Linked DNA regions of Homo sapiens: region 2 is linked to region 1. The links are contacts of gene promoters, found by promoter capture Hi-C in blood cells and fetal thymus (Javierre and others, 2016). All regions are on one chromosome and are shown on one strand. The core of a region is centred on a gene start or on the middle of the fragment in contact, and the rest is flanking DNA. Distances in the headings are between cores, read along the strand shown.

Region 1 (6,546 bases), core at 670-3,169:
CCTTTTTAGTTTCTGGTGTTTCATATTTCATGCATTTCATGCACTGAGGGTGTTTTGGTGAATAGGAGGGAGATACCAAATCAAAAACGTTCTCATTCTACAAGGCCCTGCGCTGTGAATCAGATCTGTGTCTGAATCCAGGCTACCTCTTGCCAAAGGACCTCGGCATTTCCCGTAACTCCACCAGGCTTGGCCTTACCTTGTAAAACGGTGGCACAAGTCCCTCACTCTTCTCACATGCATGGTGAGGACCAAAATAAGACCGTCTTTTTGGGATTTTTTGTTGTTTATTTTTTGAGACGGAGTTTCGCTCTCGTTGACCAGGCTGGAGTGCAGTGGCAGGATCTCGGCTCACCGCAACCTCCACCTCCCAGGTTCAAGCGATTCTCCTGCTTCAGCCTCCCGAATAGCTGGGATTACAGGCATGCACCACCACGCCTGGCTAATTCTGTATTTCTTAGTAGAAACGGGGTTTCTCTGTGTTAGTCAGGCTGGTCTTAAACTCCCGACCTCAGGTGATCCTCCTGCCTCGGCCTCCCAAAGTACTGGGATTACAGGCATGAGCCACTGCACCCGGCAAAAGACCATCTTTGTGGCCAGGCACGGTGGCTCAAGCCTGTAATCCCAGCACTTTGGGAGGCCAGGGGCAGGTGGATCACCTGAGGTCGGGAGTTCAAGACCAGCCTGGCCAACATGGTAAAACCCCATCTCTACTGAAAATACAAAATTAGCCAGGCGTGGTGGTGGGCCCCTGTAATCCCAGCTACTCGGGAGGCTGAGGCAGAGAACTGCTTGAACCCGGGAGGCGGAGGTTGCAGTGAGCCGAGATCACGCCACTGCACTCCAGCCTGGGCGACAGAGCAAGACTCTGTCTCAAAAAAATAAATAAGACCATCTTTGTAAACCCTGAGTACAATGCTTGGCACTCCCCCGATGGCTGGGGTCAGCTTGGCTCAAGGCCACCTCTTCTGGGAAGCCTGCCCTGAAGCCTCCACCGCAGAGCTCCAACACAGAGCTCCTACCCAGCCTGCTGCATCCATTTAGCCTGTCTTTTTTTTTTTTTTTTTTTTTTTTGAGATGGAGTTTCATTCTTATCATGCAGGCTGGAGTGCAATGGCACGATCTCGGCTCACTGCAACCTCCACCTCCTGGGTTAAAGCGATTCTCCTGCCTCAGCCTCCCGAGTAGCTGGGATTACAGGCATGTGCCACCATGCCTGGCTAATTTTGTATTTTTAGTAGAGACAGGGTTTCTCCATGTTGGTCAGGCTGGTCTCGAACTCCTGACCTCAGGTGATCCACCTGCCTCAGCCTCCCAAAGTGCTGGGATGACAGGCATGAGCCACCACGCCTGGCCCCAACCCGTCTTTCTCAGGCTGGTCAGGTCTTGCCCACAAGGCTGGACATACCTGTGAGGCCCTGAGGTCTCACCATGGGTGGCAAGGCAGCCAGAGAGCTGCCTTTTGACCCAGCAGCAGAGCCCAGTGAATGACTCTGGCCAGAGCCACCTCTGCACTTAGGAGCATCACAGGCCTCTGCTCCAGGCTGGCTCTGGGAAGGGCAGGTGTTGGTCTCAGGAGGATAAGTCAGAGCAGGTCTCAGCTACCTCCAGCCCACCCCCATCTTGGGGCCAACCCTTCTGGAGGATCCTTTGGTCCCCCCGGCCCCACCCCCATCCCACACAAGAGCCCTTGGCCAGGGCCCCGACTCCGACCTGGGCATTAGAATCTTCTTGCCAAGAACAGGCTCCAGTTTTTCAAGTCCCAGAAGAGGCTGGGGAGTGACAGGCCTCCTGAATAAATCCCAGACCCCTCAGCCAGGGAGGCAGCTCCCTCCTCCTCTCCTACCCAAGGAGCAGGCCGAGCAGCCCCTCCCCTCATACCTCTGCGGGCTCCTTGCTGCCACACACAACGTTCCTCTGGCCCCACTTGGGTGCTCCTCACTCTCTGCCCAGGCTCCAGCTGGCCCAGCCCACCCCTCCCCTCCCACCAGGACCTTTACTCTCAGCCAACCCCTGTTCAGATTGCTTTCTCTTCTGGTAAATATTGACTTGCACATCCAGTTAAACATTGATCTTGAAGCCAGAAGCCCCTTTCCCACCAGGGCATCTAACCCTGAGGCAGCCACGCAGAACCCCCTATATTTGGGTCCCCCCCCCCGAGCCTGGAAAGAGAAAGTTCAGGAGGAGAGAGTTGAAGAGACTGGATCTGGCTAGCCAAGAGGGCGGATCCAGAAAGCACAGGAACCTAGCACTGTGTTAAGCCTTCCAGAGACCCCACGAGGTGTGGATTATCCCTGGTTCAGCCAGGCTCAGAGAGGCCATGTGACCTGCCCAAGGACACAGAGCTGGGCTGAGGCACATCCAGATTCTCACTCCCAATGTCCTTTCTTCTCCCAGAGAGCTGCCTCCCGCTCCTGAGGGGAGGAAAGGGGAAGCCACAAGAGCCTATGCAGAGAGCCCAGGATAGGAAGCCCACCCCCAACCTTCCAAGCCCAGGATCAGGTTGGCTGCCTTCAGACTGGGATGGAAGGCAGGGGGTGAGGGAGGAGAAATGAGAGGGACTCAACTTCTCCCACCGTCCTGCCACTCCAGAGCAATGTCTCTTTCCCCTACCCAAGAGCGAGGGTTCTGGAAACTGACCTGGGGCTGTATGAACCAGAAGCCTGGCAGCCCGTGCAAAGATCAGGCTGCTTCCCACCCTCACTGTCCGGCTCCTCACTCCCTGCATCAGGCTCCTTCCCACCCTCACTGTCCTGCTCCTCACTCCCTGTATCAGGCCCCTTCCCACCCTCACTGTCCTGCTCCTCACTCCCTGCATCAGGCCGCTTCCCGCCCTCACACCTGCTCCTCACTCCCTGCATCAGGCTCCTTCCCACCCTCACTGTCCGGCTCCTCACTCCCTGCATCAGGCTCCTTCCCACCCTCACTGTCCGGCTCCTCACTCCCTGCATCAGGCTCCTTCCCACCCTCACTGTCCTGCGCCTCACTCCCTGCATCGGGCCACTTCCCACCCTCACTGTCCTGCTCCTCACTCCCTGCATCAGGCCGCCTCCCACCCTCACTGTCCGGCTCCTCACTCCCTGCATCAGGCCGCCTCCCACCCTCACTGTCCTGCTCCTCACTCCCTGCATCAGGCTCCTTCCCACCCTCACTGTCCTGCGCCTCACTCCCTGCATCAGGCCACTTCCCACCCTCACTGTCCTGCTCCTCACTCCCTGCATCAGGCTCCTTCCCATCCTCACTGTCCAGCTCCTCACTCCCTGCATCAGGCTCCTTCCCACCCTCACTGTCCGGCTCCTCACTCCCTGCATCAGGCTCCTTCCCACCTTCACTGTCCTGCTCCTCACTCCCTGCATCAGGCTCCTTCCCACCCTCACTGTCCTGCGCCTCACTCCCTGCATCAGGCTCCTTCCCACCCTCACTGTCTTGCGCCTCACTCCCTGCATCAGGCCCCTTCCCACCTTCACTGTCCTGCGCCTCACTCCCTGCATCAGGCTCCTTCCCACCCTCACTGTCCGGCTCCTCACTCCCTGCATCAGGCCCCTTCCCACCCTCACTGTCCTGCGCCTCACTCCCTGCATCAGGCCCCTTCCCACCCTCACTGTCCTGCGCCTCACTCCCTGCATCAGGCTCCTTCCCACCCTCAGTGTCCGGCTCCTCACTCCCTGCATCAGGCCCCTTCCCACCCTCACTGTCCTGCGCCTCACTCCCTGCATCAGGCCCCTTCCCACCCTCACTGTCCTGCGCCTCACTCCCTGCATCAGGCTCCTTCCCACCCTCACTGTCCGGCTCCTCACTCCCTGCATCAGGCCCCTTCCCACCCTCACTGTCCTGCGCCTCACTCCCTGCATCAGGCCCCTTCCCACCCTCACTGTCCTGCGCCTCACTCCCTGCATCAGGCCACTTCCCACCCTCACTGTCCTGCGCCTCACTCCCTGCATCAGGCCACTTCCCACCCTCACTGTCCTGCGCCTCACTCCCTGCATCAGGCTCCTTCCCACCCTCACTGTCCTGCGCCTCACTCCCTGCATCAGGCTCCTTCCCACCCTCACTGTCCTGCGCCTCACTCCCTGCATCAGGCCGCCTCCCACCCTGACTGTCCTGCTCCTCACTCCCTGCATCAGGCTCCTTCCCACCCTCACTGTCCTGCGCCTCACTCCCTGCATCAGGCCGCCTCCCACCCTCACTGTCCTGCGCCTCACTCCCTGCATCAGGCTCCTTCCCACCCTCACTGTCCGGCTCCTCACTCCCTGCATCAGGCTCCTTCCCACCCTCACTGTCCGGCTCCTCACTCCCTGCATCAGGCCGCCTCCCACCCTCACTGTCCTGCTCCTCACTCCCTGCATCAGGCTCCTTCCCACCCTCACTGTCCTGCGCCTCACTCCCTGCATCAGGCCCCTTCCCACCCTCACTGTCCTGCGCCTCACTCCCTGCATCAGGCTCCTTCCCACCCTCACTGTCCGGCTCCTCACTCCCTGCATCAGGCTCCTTCCCACCCTCACTGTCCTGCGCCTCACTCCCTGCATCAGGCCACTTCCCACCCTCACTGTCCTGTGCCTCACTCCCTGCATCAGGCTCCTTCCCACCCTCACTGTCCTGCGCCTCACTCCCTGCATCAGGCTCCTTCCCACCCTCACTGTCCTGCGCCTCACTCCCTGCATCAGGCCGCCTCCCACCCTCACTGTCCTGCTCCTCACTCCCTGCATCAGGCTCCTTCCCACCCTCACTGTCCTGCGCCTCACTCCCTGCATCAGGCCGCCTCCCACCCTCACTGTCCTGCGCCTCACTCCCTGCATCAGGCTCCTTCCCACCCTCACTGTCCGGCTCCTCACTCCCTGCATCAGGCCACCTCCCACCCTCACTGTCCTGCTCCTCACTCCCTGCATCAGGCTCCTTCCCACCCTCACTGTCCGGCTCCTCACTCCCTGCATCAGGCTCCTTCCCACCCTCACTGTCCTGCGCCTCACTCCCTGCATCAGGCCCCTTCCCACCCTCACTGTCCTGCGCCTCACTCCCTGCATCAGGCTCCTTCCCACCCTCACTGTCCTGCGCCTCACTCCCTGCATCAGGCCGCCTCCCACCCTCACTGTCCTGCGCCTCACTCCCTGCATCAGGCCACTTCCCACCCTCACTGTCCTGCTCCTCACTCCCTGCATCAGGCTCCTTCCCACCCTCACTGTCCTGCGCCTCACTCCCTGCATCAGGCTCCTTCCCACCCTCACTGTCCTGCGCCTCACTCCCTGCATCAGGCTCCTTCCCACCCTCACTGTCCTGCGCCTCACTCCCTGCATCAGGCCGCTTCCCGCCCTCACACCTGCTCCTCACTCCCTGCATCAGGCCACTTCCCACCCTCACTGTCCTGCTCCTCACTCCCTGCATCAGGCTCCTTCCCACCCTCACTGTCCGGCTCCTCACTCCCTGCATCAGGCTCCTTCCCACCCTCACTGTCCTGCTCCTCACTCCCTGCATCAGGCTCCTTCCCACCCTCACTGTCCTGCGCCTCACTCCCTGCATCAGGCTCCTTCCCACCCTCACTGTCCTGCGCCTCACTCCCTGCATCAGGCCGCCTCCCACCCTCACTGTCCGGCTCCTCACTCCCTGCATCAGGCTCCTTCCCACCCTCACTGTCCTGCGCCTCACTCCCTGCATCAGGCTCCTTCCCACCCTCACTGTCCTGCGCCTCACTCCCTGCATCAGGCTCCTTCCCACCCTCACTGTCCTGCGCCTCACTCCCTGCATCAGGCTCCTTCCCACCCTCACTGTCCTGCGCCTCACTCCCTGCATCAGGCTCCTTCCCACCCTCACTGTCCTGCGCCTCACTCCCTGCATCAGGCTCCTTCCCACCCTCACTGTCCTGCGCCTCACTCCCTGCATCAGGCTCCTTCCCACCCTCACTGTCCTGCGCCTCACTCCCTGCATCAGGCCGCCTCCTACCCTCACTGTCCTGCTCCTCACTCCCTCCATCAGGCCCCTTCCCACCCTCACTGTCCTGGAAACTGCTGGGTCTCGACTTTCCCCACCCTGACACCACCAGCAAGATAAGCCTCAGGCTGGGCGTGGTGGCTCATGCCTGTAATCCCAACACTTTGGGAGGCCGAGGCAGGAGGATCGCTTGAGCCCAGGAGTTGGAGACCAGCTTGGGCAACATAGTCAGACTCCATCTCTATTGAAAAAAAAAAAAAAGACAAGCCTCAGTTCACCCCATGGCTCTTCCAAAGGATTTATTGGTCCTATTTACATCTATTGCAAATTGTGAGAAGGCAGCAGGGGCCAACCCCTGGACCTCATCTCTGTCTAGAATGTGAGGTCGCAGGGATGCTTAAGTCTTCCTCTGGCAGAGACCCGAGGTGCAGAGATGATTCTTCTCACCCCTTCTCTCAGGGTCGTGGAGCCCCAGCAGGGGTTCAGGGCCCAGAGGCTGCCCCCTCAGCTGAAGGCACAAACACTGTGGTAGGGGTGGGCAGACAACGCATGGACTCACTCCTGGCAGGCGCCACTGGCCAAGTGCACCTTTTCCCCCTGCTCCTAGCCTCCTTCTTCCTTCCC
Region 2 (6,546 bases), core at 1,605-4,104, 41 kb before region 1:
CCAAAAAAAATGTTATGAGAAAAATTCCAGGATAAGGCTGCTTAAGATACAGCTTGATCCAGGGGCTTTCTGTCCACCCCTCTCAGCTTCATTTTCTCTGTGTTAGCCCATCCTCAGATAGACTTCCCTCTTACGATGCAGGATGGCTGCCAGCAGCCCAGCCTGCGGATTTCCTGCCAAGGAGGATAAGAGCACATGCCACTCAAACAGCAGCCTGGGCAGAGATGTTACTGTGTTTCATTGACCTGAGAACTGTGGCTGGAGGAAAATTAGACATAGTTTTCCTCCAGCCATTTGGGCCAGAGGAAGGAGCCATATGTGAGCCACATGCCACACCCTCAGCTGTAGGGCAAGGGCCATGGGACTGAGGGTGAGAGGGATCCTTATGAGAAACTGGGTTGGGTTGCTGTTGCCAAATGAGAAAATAGATATCGGCCTTTGAAACACAGCAGATGTCCACCTCGGAGGTTTCCCCTCTGCCACAAGTGCCGTATTCTTCTTAGGGGAGTCATGAGTGAAAGGCAGAGCCGGTTGTGTTAGAAAGCTAAACTTGGAGACCCAAGGTCAAATGTAGGACGATCGCACCTAGCACCTTTTTCTATTAGTTTTTTTTTTTTTCTTTTTTTTTTTTGAGATGGGGTCTTGCCCTGTCATCCAGGCTGAAGTGAGTGCAGTGGCACGATCTCTGCTTACCACAGCCTCAACCTCCCAGACTCAAGCAATTCTCCTGCCTCAGCCTCCCCAGTAGCTGGGATTACAGGCATGCACCACCATGCCCAGCTAATCTTTGTATTTTTAGTAGAGACGAGTTGGCCATGTTCTCCATGTTGGCCAGGCTGGTCTCGATCTCCTGGCCTCAAGCGACCTACCTGCCTCGACCACCCAAAGCGCTGGGATTACAGGCGTGAGCCACCACGCCCAGCCTTTCTATTGGTTTTCTTTTTTTTTTTTTTTTCTTTTTCTTTTGTGAGACAGAGTCTCTCTCATGTCACCCAGGCTGGAGTGCAGTGGTGCAATCTCGGCTCACTGCAAGCTCCACCTCCCGGGTTCACGCCATTCTCCTGCCTCAGCCTCCCGAGTAGGTGAGACTACAGGCGCCCGCCACCACCATGCCCGGCTAATTTTTTGTATTTTTAGTAGAGACGGGGTTTCACCGTGTTAGCCAGGATGGTCTCGATCTCCTGACCTCATGGATCCACCCGCCTCGCCCTCCCAAAGTGCTGGGATTACAGGCGTGAGCCACCGCACCTGGCCTTCTATTGGTTTTCTGAGGACTTTTTCATAACTACTAGAAATGTTTGTCATCAAGGCCGGGCACGGTGGCTCACGCCTGTAATCCCAGCACTTTGGGAGGCTGAGGCGAGCGGATCATGAGGTCAGAAAATCGAGACCATCCTGGCTTACACGGTGAAACCCCGTCTCTACTAAAAAAAAAAAATAAATAACACACACAAAAATTTAGCCGGGCTTGGTGGTGGGCACCTGTAGTCCCAGCTACTCGGGAGACTGAGGCAGGAGAATGGCGTGAACCCGGGAGGCGGAGCTTGGAGTGAGCCGAGATCGCACCACTGCACTCCAGCCTGGAGACCGAGCGAGACTCCATCTCAAAAAAAAGAAATGTTTGTCATCTAAAGTCCTGGCCCCAAAAAGCGACAAGAGGGGCTATAGAAGTGGAAAGAAATTGTGCACTGTACCAGTTCTGTTCCAAAAATGAAATCTCAGGTGGGATCAGCTACTGCTGATACACTTCATTAGAATTGCCGCCATTGCCGCCATCAAACAAAATTCGCTCAGACTTTCGTCACGATGTATTGTTACAGGAGTCTCTTTCCCCCATGAGGTAAGAAACTATGGAGCAGTCCTGTAATGTAAGCACAGGCGGTGTTGATAACTGACCCTGGCATTGGAATAAAGAGAAAACTGACTTCCACAGGGAGATGACGTGCTGCGCTGTGGCAGCAGATCTTGTGCAGAATCCGCCGTCAGCAGGGACCACCTGGTCTCTCGGTTACAGGACCTACAGCAGCAGGTCAGAGTGGCCCAGAAGCTTCTCAGAGATGGTGAACTAGGTGAGACTGGCTCCCTGCTTTGGTCCTCCAGCCCCTTCCCTTTTATTTGTTCTGATACCGTTTTGGACTCAGGGATACTCAGTACTGATGGGAGAATTGGATGTAATTATCCCCATGCCAGCCACAAGATGGCTATATAGGCCAGTGAGTCCAAACCCTGACCAGCTTTGTTACTGTGGGGCCCTTGAAAAGGGGCCAGGTGATTTCAGCTGTTGTTTTCTTCTGCATCTGATTGCTAAGTTGAAGTACCCCTGCCAACTAACGGGTCATCGCTGACATCCGTGAGCTGTGTGCAGTTCCAGAAGTTGAGTGTCATTTATTTTAATTCCAGGGCCTAGTGATGTAACTTCCTAGAAGGGCGGTTCTTCCCTCCTCAGAGCTAGTCTCTGCTAGAGAGCAGTGGGGCGTGAGCCCAGCTGATAGGAGTGTCTTGCTTTTGTCTGAGACTTGCGGAGCTCCCCATTGCCCTTGAAAACCCTGCCTTAGAGCTTGACATCATGGGATTTTTATTTACCCTGCTTTATGAAAGTTGACCTTTAGCTTAGATTTCAGGGTCAAGAGAAATCATGGCCGTACGTGAAAGGTAGAGTTGGTCGAGTTGGGAAGTTAATGTTGAAAATACAGTGTAAATGTGGGGAGGCCTCCCCTAGCGCCTTTCTCCACTGACAGAGAAAACAGAAGAAAACAGCAGCTTTATTGGAACAGACATTGTGCGTTGGTGACAACCCAGGGAGGCCAGGGGGAATTTCCACATTCAGCCCAGCTGATTCAGAGGATTTGAGACCTGGATTCTCATTCCTAGGACTGGGCTTCTGTCTATAGTGAGACGTCTTTCCTCTGCATTGACAGAGCGAGCTGTTCAGCGGCTGTCGGGGTGCCAGCGTGACGCCGAGAGCTTCCTGTGGGCAGAGCACGCCGTGGTGGGAGAGATCGCGGATGGCCTGGCCCGGGCCTGTGCTGCCTTAGGTACAGCATGAGCCTTCACGTTCTGCGTCGGGAACAGTCTGCTGTGGGCACTTCGCCGTGGCCCCGGCCTTGTCTGCCTGGTTACCCCCCGCTCTGTAAACTGAGGGTGCTCCCCCTCTCGTTCCATTTCCTCCCCCTGAAAATATGCATCCACAGTTGACAGTGGTTCTTTTCTGGAACAAGATTTTTCTCTTCTCACAGGAGACTGGCAAAAGTCAGCCACCCATCTACAGAGGAGTCTCTACGTGGTGGAGGTTCGCCACGGGCCGTCCAGTGTTGAAATGGGCCATGAGCTCTTCAAATTGGCCCAGATCTTTTTCAACGGGTGAGTCCCTTTCCCACTTCACAGGGCACACACTGTTCCTTTCCTAGGCTCTTCTGGGTATTACTTTTTTTCTATGGTGTTTTTAAAAGCATGTTGAAACTTCTTTATTTCCTCTTTAGGAGAGATCTTTGCCTTCTGTTTTGCTAACAAACATAACGCTTTAGAATTTCCTCCTGGGAGGCGGAGCTTGCAGTGAGCCAAGATCGCGCCACTGCACTGTAGCCTGGGCGACAGAGCGAGACTCCATCTCAAAAAAAAAAAAAAAAAGAATTTCCTCCTGGGAGATATGGGGAAAGCTTTTAGATCTCAAGTGAGTTTCCCAGAGAGAACTTGGCCAGGCAGCCCCACCCACCCTCCAGTATAGCTCTCCTTCTGGTTGTTCTCTGGTTCGTCACAGCCCCTTTGGCTGTCTCATTCCCAGCACTCTCAGCTCCAGGCTCTCTGCCTTCTCCCTACTCTGCATCCTCTTCCTTTTAAAGCGTTTGCTTGAACCAGGGCTGATTTTACCCCCAGACAACATGTGGCATTGCCTGGAGACTTTTTTTTTTTTTTTTTTGAGAAGGGGTCTTGCTGTCTTGCCCAGGCTGGAGTACAGTGGCTCGGTCACAGCTCACTGCTTCCTGCAACTCCTGGGCTCAAGCGATCTCTGGAGACATTTTGGATTGTCATGACTTGGAAGGGGGGTGCTGCTGGCATCTATTCGAAAGAGGCCAGAGGTGCTGCTAAGCATCCTCCCGGGTACAAGACAGTGCCCCCCCCACCAACCCCAGCAAAGAAGGAGCCAGCAACAGTGTCAATAGTGTCAGGGTCGAGAAACCCTGCTTTTTTGCTGCTGTTGTTTGTTTTTTGTTTTAAATCCCCTGTTCTACTTTGAAGGTTAAAAGGAAAGAACAGCACGCTGATGAGCTGATGCCAAATCCACTTTTGCTACTGAGACCATTTAGGGCCCAATTTCAGGATTTCCGGGTGGAACCTCCAACCCTGGTAAAGCTGCCCTTGGTGTATGTGGCTATGAGAAAGTGCTTAAAGCTTCAACCTAAGGCTGTGCTGAGTGGGCCTGGTACCCAAGACACAGAGACATTCTGTTTGGTCAGAGAGAGAGAAAAGGGCTGCAGAGTTAGGTCAGAGGTCAGCCCTAAGATGGTCACCCTAAAATGAAAACTGCTATGTAAACCTGTGGTAAATACCAGATGAAAACTTTGAGGCCGGGTGTGGTAGCTCACGCCTGTAATCCAGCTGCCCAGGAGGTTGAGGCAGGAGAATCACTTGAACCCGGGAGGCGGAGGTTGCAGTGAGCCGAGGTCGCACAAATACCTGGGCGACAAGAGTGAAACTCTTGTCTCAAAAAAAAAAAAAAAAGCTTTGAGATTTGCCTCGTGTTCTCAGGATCCTGGCGTCTATACTATCTTTTATAACTGTTTTCTCACACTTTTGTTTTGCAGCGTGTTTGTGACAGTGTCTTACTTACTGTTCTAGATTGTAGGATCCTTGATGACAGAAATGATCTTACATTCTTCACGGTGTGTGAGTAGGCCCTCAATTAACATTTGCCTCACAAATCAGTGAACTAACTCCTCTTACCTCCCTTGGCTCAGGTTTGCAGTACCCGAAGCCCTGAGCACAATACAGAAAGCTGAGGAGGTTCTGTCGCTGCACTGTGGCCCATGGGACGATGAAATCCAGGAGCTCCAGAAGATGAAATCCTGTTTGTTGGACTTACCACCCACCCCTGTAGGGCCTGCATTGTAGGGTTCCAGGAGGATTTTGACCCACAGAAAAGGAGCCCATGGAACACAAGTTAAAGAGGTTTTGCTGGCCAGGTATGGTGGCTCACGCCTGTAATCCCAGCACTTTGGGAGGCTAAGGTGGGCGGATCACCTGATGTCAGGAGTTCAAGACCAGCCTGGCCAACATGGTGAAACCCCATCTTTACTAAAAATACAAAAAACTAGCCAGGCGTGGTGGTGGGCACCTGTAATCCCAGCTACTTGGGAGGCTGAGGCAGGAGAATCTCTTGAACCCAGGAGGCGGAGGTTGCAGTGAGCCGAGATCGCTCCACTGCACTCCAGCCCAGGTGACAGTGTGAGACTCCATCTCAAAAAAAAAAATAAGAGGCCGGGTGCGGTGGCTCAAGCCTGTAATCCCAGCACTTTGGGAGGCCGAGGCAGGCAGATCACGAGGTCAGGAGATCCAGACCATCCTGGCTAACACGGTGAAACCCCGTCTCTACTAAAAATACAAAAAAATTAGTCGGGCGTGGTGGCGGACGCCTGTATTCACAGCTACTCGGGAGGTTGAGGCAGGAGAATGGGGTGAACCCGGGAGGAAGAGCTTGCAGTGAGCCGAGATCGCGCCACTGCACTCCAGCCTGGGTGACAGAGCCAGACTCCATCTCAAAGAAAAAAAAAAAATATTAAGAGGTTCTGCTGCCAGATGTGGGTTCTGTGGGTCGGGTGTGGGTTCTGTGGGTCGGGTGTGGGTTCTGCAGACCAGGTGCGGATTCTGTGTAGGTTCTGCAGGCCCAGTGTAGAGGCTCACACCTGTAATCCCAGTACTTTGAGACGCTGAGGTGGGAGGATCACTTGAGCCCAGGAGTTCAAAACCAGCCTGGGCAATATAGTGAGACCGTATCACTACAAAAAAGTTTTTTTAGTTCACCGAGCATGGTGGCACATGCCTGTAGTCCCACCTACTCGAGAAGCTGAGATAGGGTCACCTGAGCCTGGTAGGCTGAGGCTGCAGTGAGCCAAGATCGCACTACTGCACTCCAGCCTGGGTGACAGAGTAAGACCCTGTCTCAACAAAAAAATAACAGGTTCTGTTGCTGCTGAGCTTTCGTCAGGAAGATAAGACTTTCCCAACAGTCCGAAGCCTAGGATATGAGGGCTGAGGAGGACTCAAACCGTTGCAGTCAGAGAGACACCTATTTTGGTGAATATTTTTTGAAATAGTTAAGTGGCCTCCAGTACAAACTCCCAGTTCCCAGAAAAGACTTAAAACTAGTATCTGGAGATTCCAAGTCCTTTAAAAGGATTTTAGCTGATCTGCAGGCATCTGGATGTTAGCCTGGGGTTTTGGCTGGATTCCACCTCGCTCAGTGATGATAGTCTGTTTCCCTGGAACATTCCTGTGGTTTTAGTAGTAATGAGATGTGTGCACCACTCCAGTGGGAACTGAAGCTCTTAG

Evidence for each region. The method cuts DNA at HindIII sites, captures the fragments that hold promoters and counts their contacts. A CHiCAGO score of 5 or more calls a contact.
Region 2: a contact is called between a fragment that was not itself captured here and the fragment with the promoter of SERPINF2 in region 1, in 3 of 17 cell types (M0 macrophages, M1 macrophages and M2 macrophages). The highest score is 7.1, in M0 macrophages.

Annotation. Positions count from the first base shown.
Region 1 is chr17:1,738,244-1,744,789 of GRCh38, reverse strand. SERPINF2 (serpin family F member 2) reads right to left here and starts at 1,919. Exons shown (of 10, transcript NM_000934.4): 1 at 1,882-1,919. WDR81 (WD repeat domain 81) reads right to left here. Exons shown (of 10, transcript NM_001163809.2): 10 at 6,205-6,546. The HindIII fragment of the contact is 21,208 bases long and covers 1-6,546 here.
Region 2 is chr17:1,779,849-1,786,394 of GRCh38, reverse strand. It overlaps SMYD4 (SET and MYND domain containing 4), which reads left to right. Exons shown (of 11, transcript NM_052928.3): 8 at 1,934-2,069; 9 at 2,919-3,035; 10 at 3,237-3,360; 11 at 4,956-6,546. The coding sequence ends at 5,109. Among named protein-coding and RNA genes, the nearest start is that of SERPINF1, 21 kb to the right of the region's middle. RefSeq lists an enhancer at 2,246-2,540. The HindIII fragment of the contact is 1,609 bases long and covers 2,050-3,658 here.